Regions from separate parts of the Homo sapiens genome. Here regions 1, 2, 3, 4, 5 and 6 are each linked to region 7. Evidence: promoter capture Hi-C in 16 types of primary human blood cells and fetal thymus (Javierre and others, 2016). All regions are on one chromosome and are shown on one strand. Each heading gives the region's core, a stretch centred on a gene start or on the middle of the fragment in contact. The rest is flanking DNA. Distances are from core to core; before and after follow the strand shown. Region 1 overlaps IL13RA1 (interleukin 13 receptor subunit alpha 1). Region 2 has its middle 19 kb from the start of IL13RA1. Region 3 overlaps DOCK11 (dedicator of cytokinesis 11). Region 4 overlaps IL13RA1 (interleukin 13 receptor subunit alpha 1). Region 5 has its middle 35 kb from the start of IL13RA1. Region 6 has its middle 4.4 kb from the start of WDR44. Region 7 holds the start of DOCK11 (dedicator of cytokinesis 11).

Region 1 (3,979 bases), core at 1,051-3,550, 250 kb before region 7:
CCTCCTGAAGCAATTCTGGGGAAAGGTAAGCCTAATTTAACTCTTAGTAGTTGCCTCTTAAGTGTCATGACTTTAAGAGCCCTAGTATCTTTCTGACCTAAAATCTCTATCTTTATAAAGCCATTTTAGTTAAGGTATAATGTCTTTAAATTAAACACCTCTGTTTAAAATGTAAATCTGTTATCCCTCATGATCCTTGAAGGGGTACTACACTGAGCCATCATCAACCATTTTATGTCATAGTATAGTAATTATTATTTTTTTGAGACAGAGTCTTGCTCTGTCACCCAGACTGGAGTGCAGTCATGTGATCTTGGCTCACTGCAACCTCTGCTTCCCAGGTTCAAGCGATTCTCCTGCCTCAGCCTCCTGAGTAGCTGGGACTACAAGCATGCACCACACCTGGCTAATTATTATTATTTTTCTCCATGTTGACCAGGCTGGTCTCAAACTCCTGACCTTAGGTGATTCGCCCACCTTGGCCTCCCAAAGTGCTGGGATTACAGGTGTGAGCCACTGCATCTAGCCGTTTTTTTTTTTTTTTTTTTCGTTAACTCCTAAGGAAAGGAGAATAGGGCAGGTAAGTTGTTTCAAATCTCCTGGCAGTCCTGAATTTTATAATTTTACAAACAGCACTTCATGTGTTTGTGATCAGTACAAAGCAGGTAAATGGAATGGCTTAGAGCAAAGGGCACATAGAGCTAAGGACTGGAGGTTAAGAGATGGGGCCCAGCCCTACCCAACCAAGGGACAACATAATATTATATATAATTATATATTATATAATATTATATATATTACATATAATGTATATAATATATATTATATATAGTATATATATGTGTTATATATATATGTTTTTTGTGTGTGTACACACACACACACACACACACACACACACACAACATTCACTCTTTGCCAGGCACTATTCTAAGTACCTCACATATACTGACTTACGTAATCATCCCAATAATTCTAGGAGATAGATACTATCATCATGCCCAGTTTACAGATGAGGAAACTAAGGTGCAGAGGGGCTAAGAAATTTGCCCAAGGTTACACAGCTAGTAGCTGGCAGAGCTGGGATTTAAAGTTAGACAGTTGGTTTCTGGTAGCCCTGCTCTTAATCAGTATATGCTACTCCCTGTATGTAACATAAGAGCCAGAAGGACATTGGGAGAGGTGGGATTGGGGAACAATGATCATCCTCACTACTTGACAGCTTTTCCTAAGGTTGTCTTGTACTATCTTGTCTAGACTTGTATTGGAGCCAGGCCAGCATAATATTTTTCTCTTTAAACAACATCTTTTCCCAAATATATCCTGCATATCAAACTAAGTATCACACATAATGGGTAAGAGAGTATTTTGTGTTTTATTTTTAAAGCACTGGGCCTGAAATGTGAAGACATACAGCAAGTCACGCAGTTCCTTTCTTCCTCATAAAATGGATCAGGGTAATAATACATGCCTTACTCACTTCACAAGATAAGCTTGTGACTCTCGATCTAAAGGAGGGGTGTGCGTGTGTGTGTGTGTGAGTGTGTGTGTGCGCGCGCGTGCATGTGTATATCATTTTTTAAATTATTAAATTTTATATAACTATTAGGCATTGTTATTCAAGTTGTTTGTAAGCTTCTTCAAGGCAGAGACATACTCATATTTTCATTGAGCTGCTAGCACCTAGTACAATGCCTGGCACTTATTAGACTCAGAAAATGTTTGAGAATTGAATTAATTAATGAACAATGCACAAAAGCATTGGAGCATTCAGATTTATTCTCTAAACACCAAGAGATAGCGCTTTCAGTTGTTACCTTCTGGGGGTGAGATGCATTTTTCAACCAAAATGCTAGGCTTCTCACTCTCATTGGTGCTACACTGGGACCCCACTTGCAGACAAATCCTCTCATTCAGGGGTACTTCTATTGAACGACGAGTTTCCGGAGCTATTTTCTAAGGTTAGAAAATTGAAAAAGGCATTGCTTCAGCTAACACACACTTATATAATGAAACATTAGCATGTCTAAATGTGGTGCTTTTTTTATCAAAAAAGTTATCAAATGGTATAGATCAGTGATTCTCAATTGGGGCTGATTTTGTTCTCCCTACCGCTCTCAGAGACATTTGGTAATATCGAACACTTTTTATTGTCCTAACTTGGGAGGGGGAGGTTACCAGCATCTAGTAAGTAGAGGTCAAGGACGCTGCTAAACATCCTACAATGCACACAACAGCCCCCCTCCTCCTACAACAAACCCTTCAGCAAATGTCACTAGTGTCACCATTGAGAAACCCTGGTGTAGATACAACAATTTCCCACATTTTAAAGGTATAAACATGAAATTTACCTATAAACCTACAATGCTAACATATCAACTCTCTAAAAGCAATTTTAAAGGAAACAATATGATTATCAAAATTCACTTAGAAGTAGATGCACTGTACCAGGAAAATTAAGGTTAAAAAGGGATGCTTTAAGAATCCAGGAATCATGCCAGGCTCAGTGGCTCATGCCTATAATCCCAGCACTTTGGGAGGCTGAGGCAGGCAGATCACTTAAGCCCAGGAGTTCGAGACCAGCCTGGGCAAAATGGCAAAACCCCATCTGTACAAAAAAAAATTGGCCAGGTATGGTGGCTCATGCCTATAGTCCCAGCTACTCATGAGGCTGAGGTGGGAGGATCACTTGAGCCTGGGAGCGGGAGGCTGCAGTGAGCCAAGATTGCACTCTAGCCTGGACAATGCAGTGAGACCCTGTCTCAAAAAAAAAATCCAGTAATCATGGTTACTTCTGGGTAAGGAAGTAAAGGAGGAGGGCCTGAGGGCTGAAGAGAGACTTTTCATTAAACCTCTTTCTCTACTGTTTGACTATTTTGACTACCTCATATATATGTATAAATTTCAAACATTGCTATATGTGCTGAGTATATACACTCTCATTCTGAAAAGTAGATAAGCTTTGTGGAACCATAGGAAGCCAATTTATAGACATCATAGAGACATAAATCACCAGTCTGGTTACTATGACTGAGAATAATAAGATTAATGGGCTCTCCGGGAAATTAACATTTCCCAAACTGACAGAGTTGGAATAATTAAGAATGGAGCTGCTTTTAATCAGAGCTCCAAGGAGAGCACCTCCTGTTTTGCAATAGCTTCTGACTCAAGTCAGAGATAGTATTTCCTTTCATCTACATGTTGACGGCCATGAAGAGGAAAATTTGCCACAGTTAGTTCTATCTGCTACCCTAAAGAGCTATTCTGCCATGTCACATGCCTGCTGCCAGCTGAGCATGAGGGCAACTGTGAGATACCCCCAAAACCAGGACATATGGATGGCCTCTGAGAAGTAACTACCAAGTCAACAATGAATAAATCATAGCAAGGACACAAAAACAAAATCACTTTATAGAACCAGAATAGCTCTTAGGTCCAGTCAAGACAGTACTCTGAAAAGGGAGTTGGTCAGCCCTGGAAGAACAGAAAAAGAAATGTCTGTGAGCAAAATCCTGACAGGCAGGAAAAAGAGGGTGATACAGGAATGTGGGCATTGAATTTTTCTGTCCCACTGGCAAAGCTGTTTACTCTCAGTAGGGCCTCCAGCTATTCTTAGACAAGTATATTTTTACAACTAATTTCTGATTCCTCACCAAGAAACCTACTTAACATTTGGCTTCCCATATAGGCTCTGCCGACAGGGATGAAATGCACCAGTTATGCTAACAGAAATCTTCCTAGAATGCTTCACCATTACCATTCCATTTTCACAACAAAGTAAAAAATCAGCCCCTGAGAGATGCATGTGTGCTGAGGAAATGAAGTTTCTGAGTATGTGAAGCTGAAGACCTGCCTCCAGGATCATGGTAGTGGTGGCAGGAAGGCTTCGAATACAAATTTTACCAACCTCACAATTTTACTAAGCACAAGTCCCATATATCTTTGAAGAAGCCACCCTTATCCAAGGATCCATGGCAAT
Region 2 (3,905 bases), core at 34-2,533, 210 kb before region 7:
TTGAGCATCTACTATGTGCTGGAAACTGTTTTAGGAGCTGAAGATACAGCAGTGAACAAGATGAAAGTCCTACCCTTATTGAGCTTACATTCTATTTGGGGGAAACAGACCATAATCCAGAAAATGTAATACTATGATGTCAGAGGGTGTGAACTGGTATGGAGAAAAATAAAGCAGGTTAAGGGGATGGGGGGGTCCCGGGAGTGGGGTGAGTGGTTATTTTTTTTTCAGGGAAGGCCTCTGTGATGAGGTGACACGTGAGTCGAGACCTAAAATGAGGAAGAAAGCTATGGTATCATTTTGGGCAAGAGCATTCTAAGTGGAGATAACAGCAACTACAAATGGTCCGAGGTGGAAGTGGACGTGGTGTGTACAAAGGTCAATAAGGAGGCCTGAGTGACTGGAGTGGAGTGGGAGAGGGATAGCAGCTCTTCTCCAGAGGCAGCAAAGTGCCAGATTAGCCAGGGCTTCATAGTCTTTTGCGATTACTTGGAATGAGAAGAGAAGCCATTGGAGGATTTGGACAAAGGCATGACTTAACCTGCCTTATGTGTTGTTGGTTTTTTAAAACTTGAGATAGGGTCTAGTTCTGTGGTCCAGGCTGCAGTGCAGTGATGCGATCTCAGCTTACTATAACCTCCGCCTCCTGGCCTCAAGCACTCCTCCCACCTCAGCCTCCCAAGTAGCTGGGACTACACACATATCAACATGCCTGGCTAATTTTATATATATATATATAGTGTGTGTGTGTATATATATATACACACACATATATATGTGTGTATATATATATACACACATATATAGTGTGTATATATATATACACACTATATAGTGTGTATATATAGTATATATAGTGTATATATATAGTGTATATATAGTGTATATATATAGTGTATATATAGTGTGTATATATAGTATATATAGTGTGTATATAGTATATATAGTGTGTATATATAGTATATATAGTGTATATATAGTATATATAGTGTATAGTGTATACATAGTATATACAGTGTATATATAGTATATATAGTGTATGTATATAGTATATATAGTGTATGTATATAGTATATATATAGTGTATGTATATAGTATATATATAGTGTATATATATACACTATATATAGTGTGTATATATATAGTGTATGTGTGTGTATATATATATATATATTGTGTGTGTGTGTGTGTGTGCACGTGTGTGTAGAGATGGAGTCTCACCATGTTGTCTAGGCTGGTCTGGAACTGCTGGGCTCAATCAATCTGCCCAGCTTGGCCTCTCAAGGTGCTGGGATTACAGGTGTGAGCCACTGTGCCCAGCCTGCATTATGTTTTAAAAGGATCACTTTGGCTGTTGAGTTGAGAATAGACTCTAAGGTAGTAAAGAGTGGATACAGGAAGATAAGTTAGAAGGCTATTGTGGTTAGCTAGGCATGAGATAAAAAGTATATTTTGAAGGGAGAGACACAAATATTTAGTGAAGGATTAGATACAAGGTATGAGAGAAAGAGAGAGGCTGACTCAACTCCTAGGTTTCTGGTCTGAGCAATTAATTGAGTGGTGACACCATTTACCGAGATGGGGAATTCTGGGAAAAGAACAGGCTTGTGGGGTAGATTGAGGGTACTGTTCTGGCCAGGTTAAATTTGAGATATGCAATGGGAAAGGTCATAATACAACTGGGCATAATTTTTTTTTTTGAGACAGAGTATTACTCTGTCACCCAGGCTGGAGTGCAATGGTGCAGTCTCAGCTCACTGCAACCTCTGCCTCACGGGTTCAAGTGATTCTCGTGCCTCAGCCTCCCAAGTAGCTGGAATTACAGGTGTGAGCCACCACGCCCAGTTAATTTTTGCGTTTCTAGTAGAGACGGGATTTCGCCGTGTGGCCAGGCTGGTCTCGAGCTCTTAACCTCAAGTGATCCACCCGCCTCAGCCTCCCAAAGTACTGGGATTACAGACGAGAGTTACTGTACCTGGCCAGGCATAATATTTTTGAGATTAGAGAAATCTGGGTTGGAAACTCAAATTTGGGAGCCATAAGCCTATATATATGACCATGAGATTGGATGAGATCAGGAAAGGCAGCAGGGAGGTTGGTAGATTTGGCAGTGGGAGGAGGATACTCTCTTCTGATTCCAGTTTTTTTTTCAGTGCAATGAGAAAGAAGATCATTTGCTGACAGTGAGATGCAGAAGAGGAAACAAGGTTTGAGGAAAGGGGAGATGATATTAAATAGCTATTTGTGATGTTGTTATATTTTACATTTCTAGGTGTTTGTTGTGGAAAGGGTTTTTGTGTTATTCATTGAGCAAGTTTTGCTGTCATAGCTCACTTTTGTAATGAAGAGAAAGGTAATTTTATTTTATTATTATTATTTCTTTGAGACGGAGTCTACCTCTGTCACCCAGGCTGGAGTGCAGTGGTGCGATCTTGGCTCACTGCAGCCTCGACCTCCTATGCTCAGGTGATCCTCCCACCTCAGCCTCCCGAGTAACTGGGACTACAGGTATGTGCCACCACACCCAGCTAATTTTTTTTGCATTTTTGTAGAGATGGGATTTCACCATGGCTGGTCTTGAACTCCTGACCTCAAGTGATCCGCCTGCCTTGGCCTCCGAAAGTGCTGGGGTTACAGGTGTGAGCCACTGCACCCGGCCAGTAATTTTAAATTGAAAGATAAGTAGATAACAATCATCCTGTCGAAAATCAGGCAGAAGATGTTTTATTAAGACATTGACTGGCTGGGCATGGTGGCTCATGCCCATAAATCCCAGCACTTTGGGAGGCCGAGGTGGGAGGATCACCTGAGCCCAGGAGTTCGAGAACAGTTCTGGGCAACATGGCAAGACTCTCATCCCCACAAAAACATTTAAAAAGTAGAACAATAAGTAAATAAAAGAAACTGATTAGACACCATAGAAAAAGGAAACAATCACAAATTTGAAATGTTCCTTTTTTTTTTTTTTGAGACAGAATCTCACTCTGTCACCCAGGCTGGAGTGCAGTAGTGTAATCTCAGCTCACTGGAACCTCTGCCTCCTGGGTTCAAGCAATTCTCCTGTCTCAGCCTCCCGAGTAGCTGGGATTACAGGCACCCGCCACCACGCCCAGCTAATTTTTATGTATTTTAGTAGAGACGGAGTTTCATCAGGTTGGCCAGGCTGGTCTGGAACTCCTGACCTCAAGTGATCCACCTGCCTTGGACTCCCACAGTGCTGGGATTACAGGTGTGAGCCACAGTGCCCGGCCTGAAATGTTTCTTATATTCCAGTAATTGAATAAAATAGGAACTAGATTGGATTTCCTCTTTTTCCCCTTTACACAGAAGGAATGACATCAAAGAGTGGTTTACCTAATGTCTCTTGCTCGCTGTCACCATGATGTGGTGACTGTCATCATGTAGGTGGCACTAGCTCCCTTGATATTTGCCCGCCGGTCATGTTTCCAGACAAGAATGCTATTGCTGTCCAATGCCTCATCAAAGGTATAGATGGGGCAGAGAACTAGAAATTGAGGAGCAAACACCTCAAATGTCCTTGGCAGATTAGCTGGGTCCTAGCCACATGCAGATGTGTGGTTCCAAGTGAAAGCAGATCTGAATATCCAGTGTGGAGACCACTGGAAAGAAGGGGCCAGACATAGTCCAGCCAGCCCCTGAGGTTAGAAACAGCCAGCATGCTCTCAAATGCTGTCTCCCACTCTCTGCTTTGTAGACCCTTTCACTGGAGGTAGCTGATAGAGCATCATATGCCCTCTCTTCCCAGGCCACAGCAGAAAATGGTGGCATGCATTAACATATTATTTATCCAGTGCCAGCTGAAGGAAGGGGCAAACTAATCTGTAACTTATGCTATACACTATAAGGAACTTAAAAAAACATGGGAAGGACATGTACTTCCATGT
Region 3 (3,771 bases), core at 864-3,363, 170 kb before region 7:
ATCTGCCATAGGGTTCTGATTAAAATGCAAACCTGAGCGTGCCACTCTCCCTTTCTTAAAATCTGGCAATGGCTCCGCATCACTCACAGAACAACGGACACGCTCCTTCATGTGGCACATAAAGCTTGCAATGATGTGGCTGATACTTCCATAATCTCATCATTCATCATACCAAACTTTGTACTTTATGTTATAACAACAGCGAACTACTAGCAGTTTCCCTGAAGCACAATGGTGTGTCTTAGCTTTATGTCTTTGTTCAGGCTGTGCCCCTCCTCCCTTTAATCCCTTCTACTTGGTTAATCTCTTTAAAACACTTTAGGTATCACCTTTTCCAGGATCCTTCTCCTTATCAATATAGGGTAGGCAAGACACTACACATCTTTTTTTCTATTTCACTACTTTTTTGGCAAAGATTTATCACTATATTTGTACATTATTTACGTATTATCTACATATCTGACTTTTCCAATAGGCTGTGATTCTTTGAGAGTAGGGACAATATTTTACTTACATTGGCTTTTCCAGTAATTATTTTAGTGTCACTGGATAGTATATGTGAAATAAATGTTGCTACTTGAATAAAACATCTGTATATTAACATCTGCTAGCCAAATTAAAATTTCCAGCAATTTTGGGACAAACATTGGGGGAATTAAAAATAAGGTGCACACTTAGTATGAATTATCCCAGGAATGTAAAGTTAGGTTACAATTAGAAAAAAAAAACAATGTAATATACAACCTCATAAACTGAATAAAAAAGAAAAATTATATCTCTTTCAATAGATGCAAGAAAAAAGCATTTACAACACTCAACACCCATTCATGATATTTAAAAAGAACTCAAGAAACAAAGAATAGAAGAGATCTTCCTCAATCTGATAAGGGGCATTTACTAAAAACCTTAAAGGCTAGACATGTTTCTCCTAAGATTGAGAACAAGTTAGAATGTCTGCTCTCACCACTTCTATCCAACATTATGCTGAAGGTTCTAGCCAGTACAATAAGGCAAGAGAAAGAGAAAAAGCATACAGGATTAGAAAAAGTAAAATTGTTCCGTGCATATGGCATAATTGTATATGTAGAAAATCATAAAAGACATACAAACTATGAAAACTAATAAGCAGATTTAGTAAGGTTGCAGGACGTAAGATCAACATACAAAATCAATTATATTTCTATATACTAGCAACAACATAATAAAAAATAAAAATATAAAAGCAAACAATATTATTTACAATAGCATCAAAACATCACATATCTACCAGTAAATCTAACCCAAGACTTCTACCCTAACAACTACAAAATATTATTGGCAGTTAAAGATAACCCAGATAAATGTCCATTGATTGAGAAATTCAATATTGTTAAACTCTCCATTCTCAGGCTATTTTGAGGAAGTAGAAAAGATGATTCTAAAGATTATATGGAAATTCAAAGGACGTAGAATAGCCAAAACAACTTTGAAAAAGAATAAAGCTGGAGGGCTAACACTACTTGATTTCAAGACTTAAGTTATAGTAATCAAGTGTGATATTGGCATCAAGATGGGCAAATAGATCAGTGGAAGAGAACCGAGAATCCAGAAATAGCCCACACAAATATGAAAAACCGAACTTTTGACCAAGGTGCCAAAGTAAATTCAACGTGACAAAAGGAAAGTCTTGTTTTTCCCCAAATGGTACGTCTTAAAAAAAAAAAAAACTGTCTTAAAAAAAGAGCTTTGACCTCTATTTCATTCCACAAATGAACTTTAAATATATTATAGACCTAAACAAAACTCGGAAACAAGTTTCTAGGAGAAAACACAGGACAACACTATCAGGATCTTGAGGTAGGCACAGATTTTTGGGACCAGATACAAAAAGAACAAATTATTATAAAATAATAAACTGGATTTCATCAATTACAACCAAAACCAAAATTTTCTGCTCAACCACAGACTCAATTAAGAAAGTGAATGGTCAAGTCAGAAGCTGGTAAAGAAATATACAGCACATATATCTTGACAAAGGATTTATATCCAGGAAAGAACTCCCACAAAACAACAATAAAAAGTAAGCAATGTGATTTCTAAAACGGATAAAAGACAAACATTTCACAAAAGAAAATACAAAAGAGGCCAAGGAACACCTGAAAAAGTGGTAGACATCATCGGTTATTAGGGAAATACAAATAAAAGCCACAATGAGATGTTGATTCACACCTAATATTAATAGAATGGCTAAAATTTAAAAAGATCAGCAATATCAGATGCTAGGGAGGATGTGGGGCAACTAGAACTCTCATCTACTACTGGCAAACAGTATAAAACGGTCCAACCACTTTGAGAAACTCTTCGGAAATTTCTTAAAAGTTAAACATATATCTTCCCTAGGATTCAGCAATGCTACTCCTAGGTATTTACCCAAGAGAAAAAAAGCATATGTCAACAATAAGTCATAGATAGGAATGTTTAAAGTAGACTTATTCGTAACAGCCTGAAACTGGAAACAATTCAAAATCCATCAACTGAATGGATTTAAAATTTGTATATAAAGACAAAGAACAAACTTTTGATATACCCAACAATATGGATGAATCTCAAAAACATTAGGTTAAACAAGAGAAGCCAGATTAAAAAAAGGTACATATTGAATGATTGATTCCATTTTTATGCCATAAAAACTAATTCATGGTGATAGAAATCAGATGGTGGAGGTGGGGAGCCTGACTGGAAATGGGCACAAGGGAACCTTTCCCGAAGGAATGGGCATGTTCTATTTTTTGTTTCTGATGGTAGGTTACATGGGTGTATACAACTGTCAAAATTCATCAAATTGTTTAAGATTTTATTACATATTAATTATATCATTTTTATTTTTATTTTTGAGACACAGTCTCGTTCTGTTGCCCAGGCTGCAGTGCAGTGGCACGATCTTGGCTCACTGCAACCTCTGCCCCTGGGGTTCAAGAGATTCTTGTGCCTCAGCCTCCTGAATAGCTGGGATTACAGGCCTGTGCCACCACGCTCGGCTAATTTTTATATTTTTAGTGGAGACGGGGTTTCACCATGGGGACAGGCTGGTCTTGAACTCCTGGCCTCAAGTGATCTGCCTGCCTTGGCCTCCCAAACTGCTGGAATTACAGGTGTGAGCCACCACGCCCAGCCCAATTATATATTAATTATATGTTTAAAATCGATTGCAGGGGCACACGTCATCAGGACCTCCTGAGGTGGTGTCATGCAGAAAAAAAAAACTGTTGCAAATCAAGTCAGAAATACATTTTTGGAAACAAGTTACATTGCGTTATTACCGGTTTAACTCACATATTTAAATACAAGCACTAAATGGACAACTGTTTGTATTTTTCATTTCAATGTAACTTCTAAATCAGTGTCAGTTTTTTTAATTGGCTAGGGTTTAAGGAAGAAGCCTTATTATGCAAACTGAAAAATAAAGTGGCACTTGGTAAAACATGATTCTACCTGTATATATCAAATAGAAGTATGTATAAATTACTTGTAGAACCCAAAAGATTTCCAACAAATGTGTTTATACAGAAAACTAATTACAGTTTTTGATTATTAAGAAAAGTTATTGCTCTCCTTAAGAGTATAAAAAAGGGTCAAGCTCAAAGCCATTTCTATGAATACACTGAAGCTGCTGTTTAGAAGGCAAGGATATAAGTTCAGTTGTACTGAACCAGTTAAGCCCCATGAAATCCTCTGAATCTTCCTGCTGTCAGCCTGTAAAACCTGCAGGTCTCTGGGAAATCATCTAACTAA
Region 4 (3,898 bases), core at 764-3,263, 230 kb before region 7:
TAACACTGAACTGTGTACTTAAAAATGATTAAGATGGTAAATTTTATGTGTATTTTATAATAAAAAATTGAAAAAAACACAGGCACTGAAACTTTAATCTCCAAATGTTTAAATATATACAAATACATGTGAACTGTGTGTGTATACAACATGCCTAGACATATATATGATTAAGTGATGATTATACTACTTGTAAAGGTCTCTAACAGCTCTTCGTGTATAACTTCAACATAGTGTAGTGTTTAAGAGCACAGACTCTGGAGCCTGACTGCCTGAGTTTATATCCCACCTCTACTACTTGCCAGCAGGCAAATTACTTAACCTCTCTATTTCTCAGTTTTCTCATCTCTAATATGAGGATAATAATAGTAACCTCTTGCAAAGGGTTATTATGAGGATTAAATGAGTTAATACAAGCAATGTGCTTAGAATAGTGCCCACAGGCAGCAAGTGCTATGTGTTAGCTATCTGCTTTATTTCTTTAAGACAAAACAATTCTAAAGAGTTGCTTTTTTTTTTTTTTTTTGGAGACGGAGTCTCGCTCTGTTACCCAGGCTGGAGTGCGCTGGTGTGATCTTAGCTCACTGCAAACTCTGCCTCCTGGGTTCAAGCGATTCTCCTGCCTCAGCCTTCCGAGTAGTTGGGATTACAGGTGTGCACTGCCACGCCTGGCTAATTTTTGTATTTTTAGTAGAGACTGGGTTTCGCCATGTTGGCCAGGCTGGTCTCGAACTCCTGACCTCAAGTGATCCACCCACCTCGGCCTCCCAAAGTGCTGGGATTACAGGTGTGAACCACTGTGCCTGGCCAGGGTTGCTTTGGTTTTCTGTTGAATTGATATGTGTCCCTGGCCTTTGAGACAGAACAAGTATCCCTTCTACCTGATAAGCTTCCCTTAGGCACCTAATTTCAACCATGTCTTGGGGATTGCACCACTGACTTCAGAAAAGGGAGTAGGAAGGGACCCAAGTATGTCTGTATCTAAACCTCAAATCCCAAGTCTGTACAGTCATCTAGCACAACATCCTATTTAAATTAAGAGTTAACACAATCTACTATTTCATAAGAAGGCATTTTGCTTAGCTTATAGCTTTTGCTCTCGCCTGTCCAATCACAGCAGCTAGCAGAGGCATGCACATTTTGGGAAAAGTTAAGGAAATCACAAGAGTCATATATGAGTCATCTGTCCCTTCCCTTACATCCACTCAGGCATCAACTCCTGTTCGTTTTTTTCTTCCAACATCTTTCTTAGTTACCCCAATCATGCAAATATGCTCTGTTGTGCCCCACCAGGTGGGAAGATACCAGTAAGTCATGGTCCTGGACAGGAAGGGTTCGCAGCACATTTTTCTAGTGGAGACCTGCAACCATAGATTCTTATGTAGCTTCACACTCCAGGGGCTCCCCTACCCAGTGAAGTCTCCCTGCTTGCTTCCTCCTTCTGTGTTATTTTTCCCATGCTGTGCCGGACTCAGAGCTTTCAAGGGCAAATCAAGCTATTCTGCCTGGATTGACTTTACCAATGCACTCTCCTGCCAAGCCAGGTTCCTTCTTGACCACAAAGGAGCACTCTTGCCCTCATTTCTGGGTCTCTGCTCCTGCTATTGCCCCCACCTGGAATAAATTCTCCACCTACTCAAATCCCAGTCATCCAGAAGATCTAGCTCAAGTTTTACCTCTTCCATAACACTACCAACCGTCAGCTTTTTCTCTTTTGAATGCCTATAGTACTAGTTGTTTGGACCACACAGCCCAGCCACTATAAAGCCAGTCTCCAATGTAGTATCATTCGCTTCTTTTTTTGTTTTGAGACAGTCTTGCTCTGTCGCCCAGGCTGAAGTGCAGTGGCCTGATCTTCCCTCACTGCAACCTCTGCCTCCCAGGATCAAATGAGTCTCATGCCTCAGCTTCCTGAGTAGCTGGGATTACAGGCATGTAATCCCACACTCGGCTAATTTTTGTATTTTTAGTAGACGGGGTTTTGCCATGTTGGCCAGGCTCAAACTCCTGGCCTCAAGTGATCCATCTGCCTCAGTCTCCTAAAGTGCTGGGATTACAGGCATGAGCCACTGCACCCGGCCTAATATAGTATCATTAGCTTCTTAACAAATGGCTTGCACATACTTTCGTGGGTCCCAAGCCGTCCTGCCCTGCTACCCTGGGAGGTGTCCAGCTAAGGACTCTCGTCTTTTCTGCTGGGCAGAAGCAATGAGTACAGTGGTTAAGGGCATGGCCTCTGGAATCAGGCTGCCAGGGTTGGAAACCTAGCTCTTCCACTTTGCCAGGTATGCGAATTTGGGCAAGGGTCTTGGTCGCACTGTGCCTCAACTTTTTCGTGTACAAAATGGGACTAATAACAGCACCTACAAGTTATATTATTGGTAAAGATTAAATGAAATAGTACAAGTAAAGCAGCTAGAAAACTGCTGGGCATAAATGCTATATACATGCTAGTTATAATTAAGACATGCCACAATGTGGGCCATTGAGTGGGACAGGTTAAACTAAGCTAGTAATCTAATCACTTTTATAAACACTCTGAGGATTAGAGCTGGAGGAGCTCTTAGAATTTATGCAGTTCAACCTCCTCATTTCACAGATGAGAAAACTAACTGCAGCACAAAAGAGAGGAAATGACCAGCCCAGAGTCCCACAGGTGGTAAATATCAGAACCACTAAAACTCAAGTCTCACTGGAAACATCTAATTTTTTCCCACCATACCTCAATGCAATTCTATCAATACTTTTAATGGGGAAAGAAGTTTGTTTTCTAAATAAGCAAGCTAACGACAAACCATTGTGACAGGACTGATGAAGTTGGGAGTTGCCAGTATTCTCTAGATGGCCAGCTGTTGTTTCAGGTGTGTGTGGGAGTGAGTCTGTAGGAGGGAGGGTGCTGGAGTGGCACTGTGAAAATCAGGAGACTAATGAGACGGGTAACTTTAGACAAGTTCCTTCCCTTCTCTGGACTGCAATGTCCCCATATGATTACGGAAATCAGGTGTACCCAACTAAACTAGAGGCCCTTTTGGGGCAAGAATTTTGCTATACACTCTCAGGTTCTAAGTCAACCTAGAGGGCCTGACTCAGTACTAAATAAGGCAGACACCTGAATAATTATTGACTGACAAGCTTCAAGTCTCCCTCAGGTCTCTACTCAAATGCCACCTTTCAGCAACATTTGTTTTCTTCTCGATCCACCCTTTTTACAATGGCAAACCCCTTCCCACCTGCTCTGTTTTTCTCTACTTAACACCCTCAGACATATCATATATTTTACCCCCACCCCCCGATATGTCTGAGGGCAGGCACCTCATCTGTTTTGCTCACTGCTGCATCCTCAGCCCCTAAACACTGCCTGGCAGCATGTATTTTATTGACTGAATCCATAGAGGGCATTAAGGTTTCCTAATCAACATTTCAACTTGGATTTCAAAGCACATTGGTAAAAATGCAATAAGCATATATAAGTGTTTGTGTCAATGTGATAATAAAACCTATACAGTTTGGGGCTTTCATTGTCACCAAAAACGTCCAGAAGGCCATTCCTTCCAGGAGCTGCTCCTAAGGAAGTCATTAACTCCCAATTTTTCACAACTGCCAGGTTGATTAACTAGAAGTTACCAAACAGGGTGAGGGATATACACAACTCTCTGAAGTATCTTTGCAACTTTTCCATAAATCTACAATTACCCTAAAATATAAGGTTTATTAAAGAGAGTGGGGTGGGGGGAGCATCTGCCGGGATGCTATTCTGGATTTCCCAAAGGATTTCTTCGACGCCAGAGGAGGTCATGAGCGTCACGTCCTTTTTCAACAAGGACTGAGATGTTTAGAGGTTCCCTTCAACTTCCACTCGCAAGAGCCACCCTTAGACAGTGAGGATTGGCGCGGCCTC
Region 5 (4,260 bases), core at 1,304-3,803, 200 kb before region 7:
CCTGTGCTAGGTTCTGGGAAAACAGAGGTGGAAAAGTTCAGATCCAGACTCTACCCATATGGAGGTTACCTTTTAAATGAAAAAGTGGAAAAGATGAACCCTTTTTAGTCTCTAGAAAGTTGCAAGAAGTTGAAGCAGAAGACCAAAGGAAAAAGTAGAGTTGAAAACAATAGACTATAAATCAGGATACCGTGACCTCATCTCTAATTTCCTGCGTGTCTTGAGTGCATTTCTTAACCATTTATGCATCCATTTCCTTATATGTGATACAGGATCACATGAAGAATTGATTCCTATATGACATATATAAGGAGAATTGGATCAGAAAATAGATGCAAAACATGTTGGAGGAAACTTCCTGAACCAGATAAAAAGCATCCATAAAAAACCCACAGGTAACACCATACTGAAAGGTGAAAGACTGAAAGCTTTCTCCCAAAGATCAGGAACAAGACAAGGCTATCTGCAATTCTGCTACTCAATATTATACAGGAAGTTCTAGCTAGGTTCTAGGTAACAAAATAAAATAAAAGACATCAAGATTTAAAAAGAAGTAAAACTATATCTGCAGATGATATGATCTTATGTATAGAAAAACCTAAAGAAGCCACCAAAAACACGATTAAAGCTAATACAGAAATTCAGCAAGATTTTGGGATATCAGATCAATATACAAAGACCATTTGTATTTCTATAAACTAGCAATGAACAATCCAAAAATAAAATTAAGAAAACAAATCAGGCCGGGCGCAGTGGCTCATGCCTGTAATCCCAGCACTTTGGGAGGCTGAGGCAGCTGGATCACGTGAGGTCAGGAGTTTGAGACCAGCCTGGCTAACATGGTGAAACCCCGTTTCTACTAAAAATACAAAAAAATTAGCCAGGTGTGGTGCCATGGGCCTGTAATCCCAGCTACTTGGGAGGCTGAGGCAGGAGAATCGCTTGAACCCGGGAGGCAGAGGTTGCAGTGAGCTAAGATCGCGCCATTGCACTCCAGCTTGGGCCACAGCAGCGAAACTCCATCTCACTAAATAAATAAATAAATAAATAAATAGAAAAGAAAAGAAAACAAATCCATTTACAATAGCATTAAAAAGGATAAAATACTAAGGAATAAACTTCCTTGTGGGCATAAGGAATAAACAAAAGAAGTGTAAGACTTATATACTGAAAACTGTAAAACATTGTTGAAAGAAATTAAAGATGATCTAAATAAATAGAAAAACATCCTATTTCATGGGGGCTGGAACACTTATTATTATTGAGATGGCAATACTCTGCACATTGAATTACAGATTCACAGCAAATCCTGCCAAAATCCCAGCGGCCATTTTTTTTTTTTTTTTTTTTTTTGAGATGGAGTCTTGCTTTGTTGCCCAGGCTGGAGTACAGTGGTGCAATCTCGGCTCACTGTAAACTCCGCCTCCCACCTTCACGCCATTTTCCTGCCTCAGTCTCCCGAGTAGCTGGGACTACAGGCACCTGCCACCACGCCCGGCTAATTTTTTTTGTATTTTTAGTAGAGACGAGGTTTCCCCCTGTTAGCCAGGATGGTCTCCATCTCCTGACCTCGTGATCCACCCACCTCGGCCTCCCAAAGTGCTGGGATTACAGGCGTGAGCCACTGCGCCCAGCCTGCCTTTTTTTTTTTTTTTTTTTTTTAAACAGCTATTGACTAGCTGATGCTAAAATTAATATGGGCCTGGGCGTGTGGCTCATGCCTGTAATCCTAGTACTTTGAGAGGCCGAGGAGGGTGGATCACTTGAGGTCAAGAGTTCGAGACCAGCCTGGCCAACATGGTGAAATCCCACCACTACCAAAAATACAAAAATTAACCAGGCATGGTGGCATGTTCCTGTAATCCCAGCTACTCAGGAGGCTGAGGCAGGAGAATCACTTGAACCCAAGAGGTGGAGGTTGCAGTGACCCGAGATCGTGCAACTATACTCCAGCCTGGAGGACAGAGTGAGACTCCGTCTCAAAAAAATAAGATAAAATAAAATAAAAATGGAAATGCGAGGGGCCTAGAATATACAAAACAATTTTGAAAAAGAATAAAGTTGGAGGACTCACACTTCCAAATTTCAAAATCTTACTACAAAGCTATAGTAATTAAGACTTTGTGGCACTAGCGTAAGGACAGATACAGAGGTCAATAGAATAGAACTAAGAGTCCAGAATAAACCCACATATTTTTGGTCAATTGATTTTTTATAAGGGTGCCAAGGCAATTGGATGGGGGAAAGATTCTTTTCAACAAATGGTGCAGGGAAAACTGGTTATCCACATGCAAAAGAATGAATCTGAATCCCTACAACACACCATATACAAAATTAGCTCAAAATGGACCAAAGACCAAAAGTAAGAGTTAAGATTATAAAACTCTTAAGAGAAAACATAGGTGTAAATTTCTGTGAAATTGGATTACGCAAGGTCTTCTTAGATACAATGCCAAAGCACAGGCAACAAAAGAAAATATAAATTGGACTGCATCAAAATTTTTAAAAACTTGAATGCTTCAAAGAACACCATCATGAAAGTGAAAAGGCAACACACAGAACAGGAGAAATATGTTTAAATCATATACTTGCATCTCGAATAAAGAACCCTGCAACTCAACAATAATAGTAATAATAGTAAAGCAACCTGATTTAAAAATGGGCTAAGGGGCTGGGAACGGTGACTTATACCTGTAATCCCAGCACTTTGGGAGGCCAAGGTGGGTGGATTGCTTGAGGCCAGGAATTCGGGACCAGCCTGGGAAACATGGCGAAACCCCAATTCTACAGAAATTAGCCAGGTGTGGTGGTGTTCATCTGTAGTCCCAGCTACTTGGGAAGCTGAAAAGGGAGGATCGCTTGAGCCCGGGATGGGAAGGTTGCAGTGAGCTGAGATCGCACCACTGCACTCCAGCCTGGGCAACACAGCAAGACCCTGTCTCAAAAAAGCAAATGGTCTAAGGACTTAAAAGAGATATTTCTCTGAGGAAGATACAAAAATGGCCAGTAACCACATGAAAGAATTCTCAACATCATTAGACATCAGGGAAATTCAAATGAAAACCACAAAGAGATACTACACACTTGCTAGGATGGCAATAATCAAAGAGGCAGATAATAACAAGTGTTGTCAAGAATATTGAGAAACTGGGACCCTCATACATTGCTGGTGGTAATATAAAGTGGTGCAGCTGCCGTGGAAATCAGTCTGGCAATTCTTCAAAAGGTTAAACATGGAGTTACCATATGAACCAGTCATTCCACTTCTGTGTACATGCCCAAGAGAACTAAAAACATGTCCACACAAAAACTTGTGAGTGTTCACAGCAACATTATTCACAGTAGCCAAAAAGTGGAAATAACCCAAATGTCCATCAACTGATGAGAAGATAAAATATGGTGTATCTATATAATGGATTATTATTTAGCCATAAAAAGGAATGAAGTACTGATACATTCTACAACATCGATGAACTTTGGAAATATGCTATGTCAAAGAAGCTGGACACAAAAGGCCACATATTGTATGACTGCATTTATATGAAATGTCCAGAACAGGTAAACCTTGTAGGGACAAAAAGTAGATTAGTGGTTGCCAGGGGCTGGAGGATGATGACCGGTAGGAGTGACTGCTAATGAGTATGGGGTCTCTTTCAGGTGATAAACATGTTTTAAATTGTAGTGATACTTGCACAACTCTGTGGATGTAATTTTAAAAAACACTGAATTGTGTACTTTAAATGGGTAAATTGTATGGTATGTGAATTATATCTCAATAAAAAGGAAAAACAAAGCAAAAAAAAAGAACATTGGAAAAGTTTTAAAATGCTATGCACAGAGGCAAAATCTTAGAACTTAGCCACGACTCCCATTAGGAGATGAACAAACATAGATACACTGTTTTTAGACAGTGACCATTAAGTGCTTAGAAAAAAAAAAAAAAGATAAATAAAGCACTCTTACTCACCAACTCCCAAGACAGGGGTATAGCCTTGTTACACAAACCCACTCCCCACCCACAACCAACTTTTACTCCTTTCCTCTCCTTGTCTTTTGATAGCTGAACTAGTGTACTGTTAGAACAAGACTGAGACTAAAGGTAGCCCAACATTTTGGAGATCAGAAGCCCAAGACATATGTCTAATTATCAATGTTTTGAAGAGTTTGGAAATTCCTATTAATCCATTATATCACTCAGGTTCTTCATCTCAGAGAAAGCTAATATCTCATGGAACAAACCTGCACATGTACCCCCTGAAC
Region 6 (3,907 bases), core at 736-3,235, 150 kb after region 7:
TCTCAAAAACAACAACAACAACAACAACAAAAACAAAACAGAAAAAGACAACTTAAGTTTCTGCCTACAAAAAGCTAATAATCTAGCAGTGGAGACAAATACGGAGTCCTAGTTTGGTGCTCTGTTTTTTTTCAATATACCATATCAGCTCTCTTGGACCTTTTAAGCTGCCTTAAACATTATACTTAGAAAAAGGTAAAATGGATAGGAATGATAAACTGGTAACATTTTTAGAGCTTTTAAAGTTTCCGTTTAAATGCTTTTATCAATTGCATGAGAAAGCCAATTGCTAGAATGAATTGCTGGAAACGTTAAAACACATATAAATACTGCCCATCGTCACTTTTTTTTGTTTTTTTTTTTTTTGAGATGGAGTCTCGCTCTGTCGCCCAGGCTGGAGTGCAGTGGCTCGATCTCTGCTCACTGCAAGCTCCGCCTCCCGGGTTCACGCCATTCTCCTGCCTCAGCCTCCCGAGTAACTGGGACTACAGGTGCTAGCCACCACGACCGGCTAATTTTTTTGTATTTTTAGTAGAGACGGGGTTTCACCGTGTTAGCCAGGATGGTCTCGATCTCCTGACCTCTTGATCCGTCCGCCTCGGCCTCCCAAAGTGCTGGGATTACAGGCGTGAGCCACCGCGCCCGGCCCCATCATCACTTTTAAAGATGTAAAAGATGTGTTTATTTTGCCTGAAATATCAGTTCTTGAGTTTTAAAGCAGCAGATTTTAGGTATCATCCAAGGCAGTGGTTTTGAAGCTTTTCTCTGTATTAGAAATGGAACCTTAATCAAACTTAATTTTATGCAAAAGTCGATATAGTATACAAATAAAAACTGCTCTATTTGAAACAGGGTTTCAAAGTTGAGGTCCCTGTCTGTTTGACCTTCCTTGAATCTCCGGAGACTGTCCTAAGGCCCGATAAAAAAAAAGAACAAATGAAAAACTATTGGTCCAAAGCAGAGGTTGGCAAATTATGGTCCACTGGACAAATCTGTCCCACTCTCTGTTTTTGTAAATAACATATTGTTGGAACATAGCCAGGACTATTTGTTTATATATTGCACATGGCCGCTATCATGGCAGAGTTGAGTAGCTGGGACAGAGACTGTGTGACCCACAAAGCCTAAGCCTAAGATATTTACTATCAGGCCGTTTTTACAGAAAAATTTTCAGATCCTTGGTCCATAAGATACTATTTTCTAGGGTACCTCAGAACTAAAAATACCCTCAAATTAAATGGTTTCAGCAGATCATATGATGCTGCAAAATCATGTGTGTAGATAAAAATAAGAATAAAACCTTCCCTACCTGGCTCATTCCCAATGACTATTAAAATTTCATACATCTAAGGGTAAGGTGGGTTTAAGGAAAATTTTTATGCTTAACTAAATTCCTTATCTGCATAGCAAATACTCTACTCTCCAAAGACTAGAGGTCACAGCCACTGTATGGAACAACTTATCTGTGGGATGTTCATTCTCTCCTCTTGGCAAGAATAATACAAACTGGCAACATCCTTGAGGCTAATTTTGCCGCAACCCCAAGGGTAACCAGTCACTCAGAACATCAGTGTTCCAAGTACATCCTAATGCATGTAGCCTTTTGTTACAAGCAAGAGCTAAAGTGATAACTCAGGAAAAATAATTTTTTATGTACAGTGTTAGGTGATTTGAGACATAATGTTGACAGGAAAAGATTAAATATTACTCACTGTGTTGCCCAGGCTGGTCTTGAACTCCTGGCCTCAAGTGATCCTCTTGCCTTGGCCTCCCAAAGTGTTGGGATTACAGGCGTGAGCCACTGTACCTGGTCTACAACCTGCAACCCTTCTGATACCTACTTCCACAAGCAAATTTCAGGTCTTTTTCAAAGTAAAGTACCATCTTTACTGTAGCATTTATGTATTTCCTAATCATTTTACATGTGTAAAACTGTGCTGCCATTTTTATTAGGTTCATATCTTTTTGTGTATATATCACTGATGAAATTTTTGAATGTTGTGCCCCTACCCCATTTTCCCCATAAGCCTTGTGGTTTTTATTGAACAATTTTGCATAGCAGAGTGATTTTTAGGAATGCTCATGCCCCTTTATAGCAGAACTGACTGTAGTCCAGATGTGGTAGCTTCAGGTATGGCTGGATCCAGGGCCCAAGATATATCAATACGCTCTCTCTTTCTGTCCATCTGCTTCTTTTTGTGTTTTGGCTTCAATTTTCCTACTGCAAACAACTTCCTTCTTGTAGTTAGTGAAGATGGCTGCAAGGAACTTTAGCTTATAATGTCTTAATAACTCTCAGTCCCAAAGGAAGTGAGACTTTCTCTGTCAGTGTTTATATATTAAATCTCAGAGAGGATGTTGATTGGTTTTAGGAGGCCCATCTAGCTAGGAGCATACAGAACTCTCATTTGTTCAGGCCTGGGTCAGCTGATTGCTTGCCACTCGCCAAATCAGGAGAGACTACTGTGATTATCTTCCTTACTAGGACTGCATAGAATATTCAGTGGATGTTTTTTCAAGGAAAGGATACTAGCAAAACAAACAGACAAACAAAAGGATACTAGCAGACAGTAGCAACATGTTTATATAAGTTATTAAGGGGTAAGTCTCTATATACATTGACATGAAAAGAGCTCATAAAGTGTTAAATGAAAACAGATGTTACAGAATACTGTGTATAGAATAATCCCATTCATGTCAGTCATTTATCTATGCACATGTGTATACCTCTGTGTATGGAGAATTCTGGAAAAATATTCACAAAGGATTTACGGCGAGCATCTTTTGTTGCTGATTAAAATAATAATAATAGGAGGTTTGTGCCTTATTTGTACCTTTGTGTAATGATTTTCTACAGCGAATATGTATTACCTTATAAATAAGGGGAAATTATTAAAAGAAAATATATAACCTATCATATACAAGGTAGATTTACATACAAAATTAAGATCTAAAATTCATTTCCTACATAGTGCATAACTATGAGTCCTGGGCCTATTGTAGGTAAGATGGTTTCTGGAACACTTCAGTAAATACCACCAAGAAGCTGAACTTTGAAAAAATACCCACAAAGCAAATCTTGAAATGCAATTAGTCTACCAGTAGAAAGTCATATTTTCTGCACTGCAAGCCTGACACATAAAGAGAATAAGTAATGGTAATTTCTAAAGCAACTAGAAATGGTGAATCTGTGAAACAGATCGGAAGCTTTTTGGAGCAAGGTTGGAGGTATACTTCTAACAATATGGACTAAGCATAATTTTGTTTTTCAACACATTGAGTATATATGGCGTGATCTAAAGAGAAATGAATAAAGGCATATGAACTTCATCCTTCAAAAAAATTATTCTGGGTCACAAACTGGAGAAGATGTCTTTTATCTACCACCCATGGCATCTTTATTTTTTTTAAATGCTTGAAACTCAATCTAAAGGCAAATATTTATATAGAAATGTCAGTCACCAGGCTAATATACACATACACACACACACTCAACAGCAACAACTAGAATTTTCTGGTGCTATAGACTGTTTGTGTTCTCTCAAAATTCATATGTTGAAACCTAATCCCCAATGTGATGGTATCTGGAGGTGAGAAGGAACTTTAAAGGTCATCAGTCCAAGCCTCATATCTCATAGATGAATTCCTTCTACAAACTTCACCAGTAAATGGTCATTCAAGGACATGGAGTTTAGTATTTATCCAATCAATTTTTTGATAACCTCTAATGTTAGCAGATTTCTTCATTTTATTTGGCCCAAATCTACATTTCTGTAATTTTCATCCACTGGTTATGATTCTGGTTACTAAGTCCATACAAAACCTTTCATCTTTTCAAAGATGGTTATCAATTCTCTGTTGTATGTTTATCTTGGGAATATATACTGATATGTTTACACTGAATGTG
Region 7 (4,336 bases), core at 1,114-3,613:
TCTCCCTCACTCCCAAAATCTCAATGTGGTTCACATACTAGAGTAATGAGTAAATATTCCTCTGCATTGCCTGGTGTAAACGGTAAAAATCAATGACCTTGGTCCCAAGTAAGCTGGGCTGACAAGGGAACCATGGCCACTGCCAGCGTCTCCTAGAAAAGACTCCTGCCAATAACAGTTTTTCCTCCTTCGCCATAGAATCAATGGTCAGGAAGGAGCCGCTGAACCTACAATGCACAAAATTCTTTTGAAAACCTAAAAACAGGGGAAAGAATGCTAATGTTAACTTTTTGCTGCTAGGGTGGCAGGTCAAGTGCTGATCAAATCCCAGTGGAAGTTTTCTTAGTCCCATTTATTCTCGAGAAATCTGGCCACCTACAGCTTTCTTCACGTGTTGTGGTAGAAGGCCAGCCAACCCCGCTCAAGGAAGGTTTTTTGTTTTCTCTGAATTTAGGAAAGCGTTCTCTGCTAGGTAGATTGAATCACGTGTTAACAATCACCCAAGATGAGAGCCCTGGTATAAATGCTCTGCACACAGCTTGCCTTCCTCTCTTAACTGGCTGTGATGACAGGCAAGGCTCCAATCTGACCTCAACAGGTCCTCACTCCAAAATCAGACTGAAATACACAAGCCAAGTCCATTAAAGTAACATTAAAGGTCTGGATTTAGCTCCACTAAACAGCAGAATTAAACTTTCAAGGGTCTAGCCACAATAAAGAGATTTCTTTAAAGTCACTTAGGTTTGCACAGTTGTAGCTATTAGGGATCAGATCTTTATCTCAAAGGTACATAGTTTACCTTTGATCCTCCTCCAGAACTCCCACTAATGTCAACTTTCTCCACTGTTGGGATCAAGCCCCTGGCCTCCCTTTAATGCTGGGTTTTATTGCTGATTCTACAAGATCAACAGAAAAATTACAAGGAAAAGCTGTGAAGTTCCCTTCCGATGACAAGTTGTTTTAACAAAAAGAGCCCTCTCTTAAACGGTGAAATTTAAACACAGCAAACGACTCGCTGTAAAATGGAGCTGAGGGAGACAAAAACAAACAAAAACAACAACCAAAAAACAAAGTAACAAAACAAACACTAATTAATCAGTCCGATTGCTTATTCAGGGTTTGTTCGCTTGTCCAGGAAACTGGCAACGAGTGTCTTGAAAACAAGAGAAGGGGCAAGTGCCCGTTAGCACCCTTTAGCCTTTCTCCAGAGTCAGACAATCTGGATAAGGCTGAGGGTGCTCTGGGAGGGTTCCCAGGGAGTCAGCGCGCTTTCGAATCCCCATCCCCCAGTCCTGAGCTGTGGGGCTCTGACCCCAGGTCCTCCATCCCTGGACTGACACACCCAGTCTTCCCCCAAATCCCCACGGCACCGTCCCCTTGGTCCCCTTGCCTCTGGAGCGCTCGCGTGTCCCCGAGGGACACACTCTCCCTGCGGTGGATGACCCTGCGCCCACTCTGTCGCAGAACCCCGTTGTTTCTAATGCCCTTCCTCCGCAGCAGCACCCCTTCAACACCCATCACCACCCTCTCTCCCCAGTTGCAGGAGGAAGTCGCTCTGCTTCCTCTGTTCTCACCGCCAGCCCGAGCTTGGGCGCCCGGGGCTTTCTGGGTGGGGTTCTTTTTTGTGTACACAGTGTGTGTATGTGTGCGCGCGAGAGTGTGTGTGCCAAACGCTCATCGCATCCTTCCGCCTAGGCGGCCTCAGGTGCTCGCGGGAGGGGATCAGGATCTCGTCGTGCCCTTGTCCCCGGCTCTTTGTGCCGAGTCCAGAGCAGCGCGAGGTCAGCTCTTTAGCTCACACCCCCGGCCCCGACCCTGGGTGGGAGCCTCCGCCTCCGCCTCCTCCGCAGCCGTCCGAGCCCGGCTTTTGCCCGTCTGCTTCCATCCCGGCGCACGCCTCCGCCGTGCCGGGCGGCCGGAGAGCTGTCAGCCGGCGCCTGGGACTCGGACCCCGGCCGGCGGCTGCCGGTGCGAAAACTTACTGGAGCGGAGAAAGACAGCGCGCGGCGCACCAAGCGGCCGCACTGGCGCCGTTCCTGCCCCTTCCCGCGTCGCTCCCGCCTGGAGCGCGTCCCCCGGGATGCCCCGTCCCCCGGCCACTCACCAGCACCACGGAGCCCCGCACGGCCTCAGACACGCTCTGCCGGAGCTCAGCCGCCGTGCCAGGCTTGCTGAGCCGTTTGGTGAATTTGCGCACTTCGGCCATGGCAGCGGCGGCGGGCGGGTCTCGGCGGGCGGGCGGACCTCGGCGGGCGGGTGGACTCACTGCCCCGGCCCGCGGCGGCCGCGGCCGCTGCTGCTCCCTCTGTTTACTCGCCGGCCGGCCGGCCACATCGCAGCTCGGCGGCGGCGCGGCTCACGCTGCTCCTCCCTCCCACCTCCCACCCGCTGCTCCTCCCTCGTTCCCTCCTTCCCTCCTTTTCTCGCTCGCTTCGCCCGCTCACTGTCCTGCCCCACGGCGTCGGCGGCGGCAGCTCCCTCCCCTAGAGGGCCCGAGCTCCGATCGCCACCAGCCGAAGCAGGAGGGTGTGTCTGATGGGGAAGGGTGTGTAGAGGGGGAGGGAGAACTGGAGGTGGGGGCGAGGGTCACGAGGGAAGAGGGGGGAAGTGGCTACCGCTCGGGCTCCGCCCGCAGCTGATGTTGCTGGTGCAGCCGCATCCGGGAGGGGAGATCTGGGCTGCTTCTTTTTTTCCGCTTGAGTGGGGAGGGCGGGGTGGGGTGGGGGAACAGAGAGGGGTGATGAAATGTCTCCAAGAGTGGGGCGTGCTCCTCTCCCGCCCTAGTGCTCCTCTCCCGCCTCCGAGCTGCAGTGCCCGCAGGAGGGCTGGAGAACTCTCACGTCCCTCCACCCCGCAAGCCCCCAGGGCCCAGGCGGCTAGGGGCTGGAAAACAACGTGGAGCAGCCGCCTTTTGTGTGCTCCTTGGGGAAGGGTCGCACCAATGTCGAAGGACAGAGAGCTGCTTTCCAGCGTGAGCGGCTCGACTGGGTCCCCCTCCTCGCCCACACCGTTTTCCTACTCAGTTGGCTCACCTAACAGGGGGCAACACTGGGGAGAGAGCATGCTTCTGGAAGTGGGAACTTATTGTGGCGGCACCCCTCGCTCCGTCCCCCACGGGGGAGAGCTGGGTGGTGGAGCCTGAGCCTGTGGCAGGTGATCCCTAGGTCAGCACTGACTGCACCAGGAGTGGGGTGGGGGTGGGCATTAGGATGAGCCTGTGGCAGGTGATCCCTAGGTCAGCACTGACTGCACCAGGAGTGGGGTGGGGGTGGGCATTAGGAAGGCCATCTCCCTGGGTTTGGTGGACTTACCAATCTTATAGTAGCTTTTACAAGTGCCCTGCACTCACCTCTCCATTTCCTATTCATCTCCTTACTCTTTTCAGCTTCCAAGAAATTGTTTTTCCAAGAATCAAAGAACATCTCATAACAGGGTATAAAACGAACATGCTTAAGACAGAAATAGGGACGGGAATCTTGAAGTACTAGTGACCCTGTCAGACCTCCTGAAGTGCAGAGTGAAAGGCTCCACTGATGGTGGCAGTTTTCTATCTGGTTATTTCATTTGTTGAGAGTTTGAAAATGGCCCTCAGTCTGGGGGACCGAGCAGCCCTTCTGAAAGCAGTCCTACCACCACCCATCGGGCACTTTCCCCACCCTCAAAGACCAAACAGTCTTTTAGGGGACTTTATTATGGAAACAAGGGCATGCGTGGTGATGGTTTCTTTGAACCCAGAAAAGGCCAAGTCTCTTCGCAGTAAGCCTATTTCAGCCATCCCATCAGTCTCAATAAAGCATATATGGAGGCTCCTAGAGGGCCTGGGACCTGGAAGTCCTCTAAAGACATTCTGTCACAAATCTTAGTTTTGCACAGTACGTGTAAAATTTGTTAATTGTTGCGTGTAGGCTGATCTCCAAGAATTCATACCCTCTGTTCCATAAATGCCTGTGTGGCTCATGCTGTTGGTTACCACCACAATAGCTATAACACTTTTTGCTTGCAAAGAGAGCCCAGATTTACTTCAGATATAGGGCAGAGCCACAGGGTTTAAGGAAGGCAGGCCCAACTCCAGGTGATGAATCATGACTGATGAAAAAACCATGATAAGCTCCCTCTTATTGACTAGTGGGATGGTCTAGACTCCCAATCGGTTTGGGCCAATAAGATATAAGAGGGAAGTGTGAGAGGAGGGTTCCTGGGAAAGTTTTTCTACCTTGATGAAAAAAAAAGGAGAGAGGCCCAGGCCCCACTTTCTTCCTGAGAGGGATGTTTTCTTGCAATGCTTTGGCCCTTGGCAGCCATATTGCAACCATGAGGCAAGGCCAAGGCAATCTCA

The links. Contacts are between HindIII fragments. The CHiCAGO score rates a contact against its expected background, and 5 or more counts as called.
Region 1: a contact is called between a fragment that was not itself captured here and the fragment with the promoter of DOCK11 in region 7, in 2 of 17 cell types (neutrophils and monocytes). The highest score is 9.7, in neutrophils.
Region 2: a contact is called between a fragment that was not itself captured here and the fragment with the promoter of DOCK11 in region 7, in 1 of 17 cell types (neutrophils). The highest score is 6.8, in neutrophils.
Region 3: a contact is called between a fragment that was not itself captured here and the fragment with the promoter of DOCK11 in region 7, in 5 of 17 cell types (activated CD4 T cells, naive CD8 T cells, non-activated CD4 T cells and 2 more). The highest score is 7.5, in activated CD4 T cells.
Region 4: a fragment that was not itself captured here is called in contact with the fragment with the promoter of DOCK11 in region 7 in 4 of 17 cell types (neutrophils, monocytes, M2 macrophages and 1 more); the score reaches 11.4 in neutrophils.
Region 5: a fragment that was not itself captured here is called in contact with the fragment with the promoter of DOCK11 in region 7 in 5 of 17 cell types (total CD8 T cells, neutrophils, naive CD4 T cells and 2 more); the score reaches 7.1 in total CD8 T cells.
Region 6: a fragment that was not itself captured here is called in contact with the fragment with the promoter of DOCK11 in region 7 in 2 of 17 cell types (fetal thymus and neutrophils); the score reaches 6.2 in fetal thymus.

The regions. Positions count from the first base shown.
Region 1 is chrX:118,744,931-118,748,909 of GRCh38, reverse strand. IL13RA1 (interleukin 13 receptor subunit alpha 1) reads right to left here. Exons shown (of 11, transcript NM_001560.3): 3 at 1,818-1,956. Among named protein-coding and RNA genes, the nearest start is that of IL13RA1, 19 kb to the right of the region's middle. The HindIII fragment of the contact is 1,325 bases long and covers 1,638-2,962 here.
Region 2 is chrX:118,706,335-118,710,239 of GRCh38, reverse strand. No RefSeq gene overlaps it. Among named protein-coding and RNA genes, the nearest start is that of IL13RA1, 19 kb to the left of the region's middle. The HindIII fragment of the contact is 7,114 bases long and covers 1-3,905 here.
Region 3 is chrX:118,665,358-118,669,128 of GRCh38, reverse strand. All of the region lies in intron 45 of DOCK11 (dedicator of cytokinesis 11), which reads right to left. Among named protein-coding and RNA genes, the nearest start is that of IL13RA1, 60 kb to the left of the region's middle. The HindIII fragment of the contact is 3,973 bases long and covers 127-3,771 here.
Region 4 is chrX:118,728,206-118,732,103 of GRCh38, reverse strand. All of the region lies in intron 1 of IL13RA1 (interleukin 13 receptor subunit alpha 1), which reads right to left. Among named protein-coding and RNA genes, the nearest start is that of IL13RA1, 2.5 kb to the right of the region's middle. The HindIII fragment of the contact is 2,243 bases long and covers 892-3,134 here.
Region 5 is chrX:118,689,990-118,694,249 of GRCh38, reverse strand. No RefSeq gene overlaps it. Among named protein-coding and RNA genes, the nearest start is that of IL13RA1, 35 kb to the left of the region's middle. The HindIII fragment of the contact is 4,246 bases long and covers 431-4,260 here.
Region 6 is chrX:118,339,801-118,343,707 of GRCh38, reverse strand. No RefSeq gene overlaps it. Among named protein-coding and RNA genes, the nearest start is that of WDR44, 4.4 kb to the left of the region's middle. The HindIII fragment of the contact is 2,449 bases long and covers 761-3,209 here.
Region 7 is chrX:118,493,842-118,498,177 of GRCh38, reverse strand. DOCK11 (dedicator of cytokinesis 11) reads right to left here and starts at 2,363. Exons shown (of 53, transcript NM_144658.4): 1 at 2,105-2,363. The coding sequence starts at 2,206. RefSeq lists silencers at 1,836-1,895, 2,066-2,125, 2,216-2,295, 2,406-2,545 and enhancers at 1,575-2,553, 2,956-3,025. The HindIII fragment of the contact is 5,195 bases long and covers 1-4,336 here.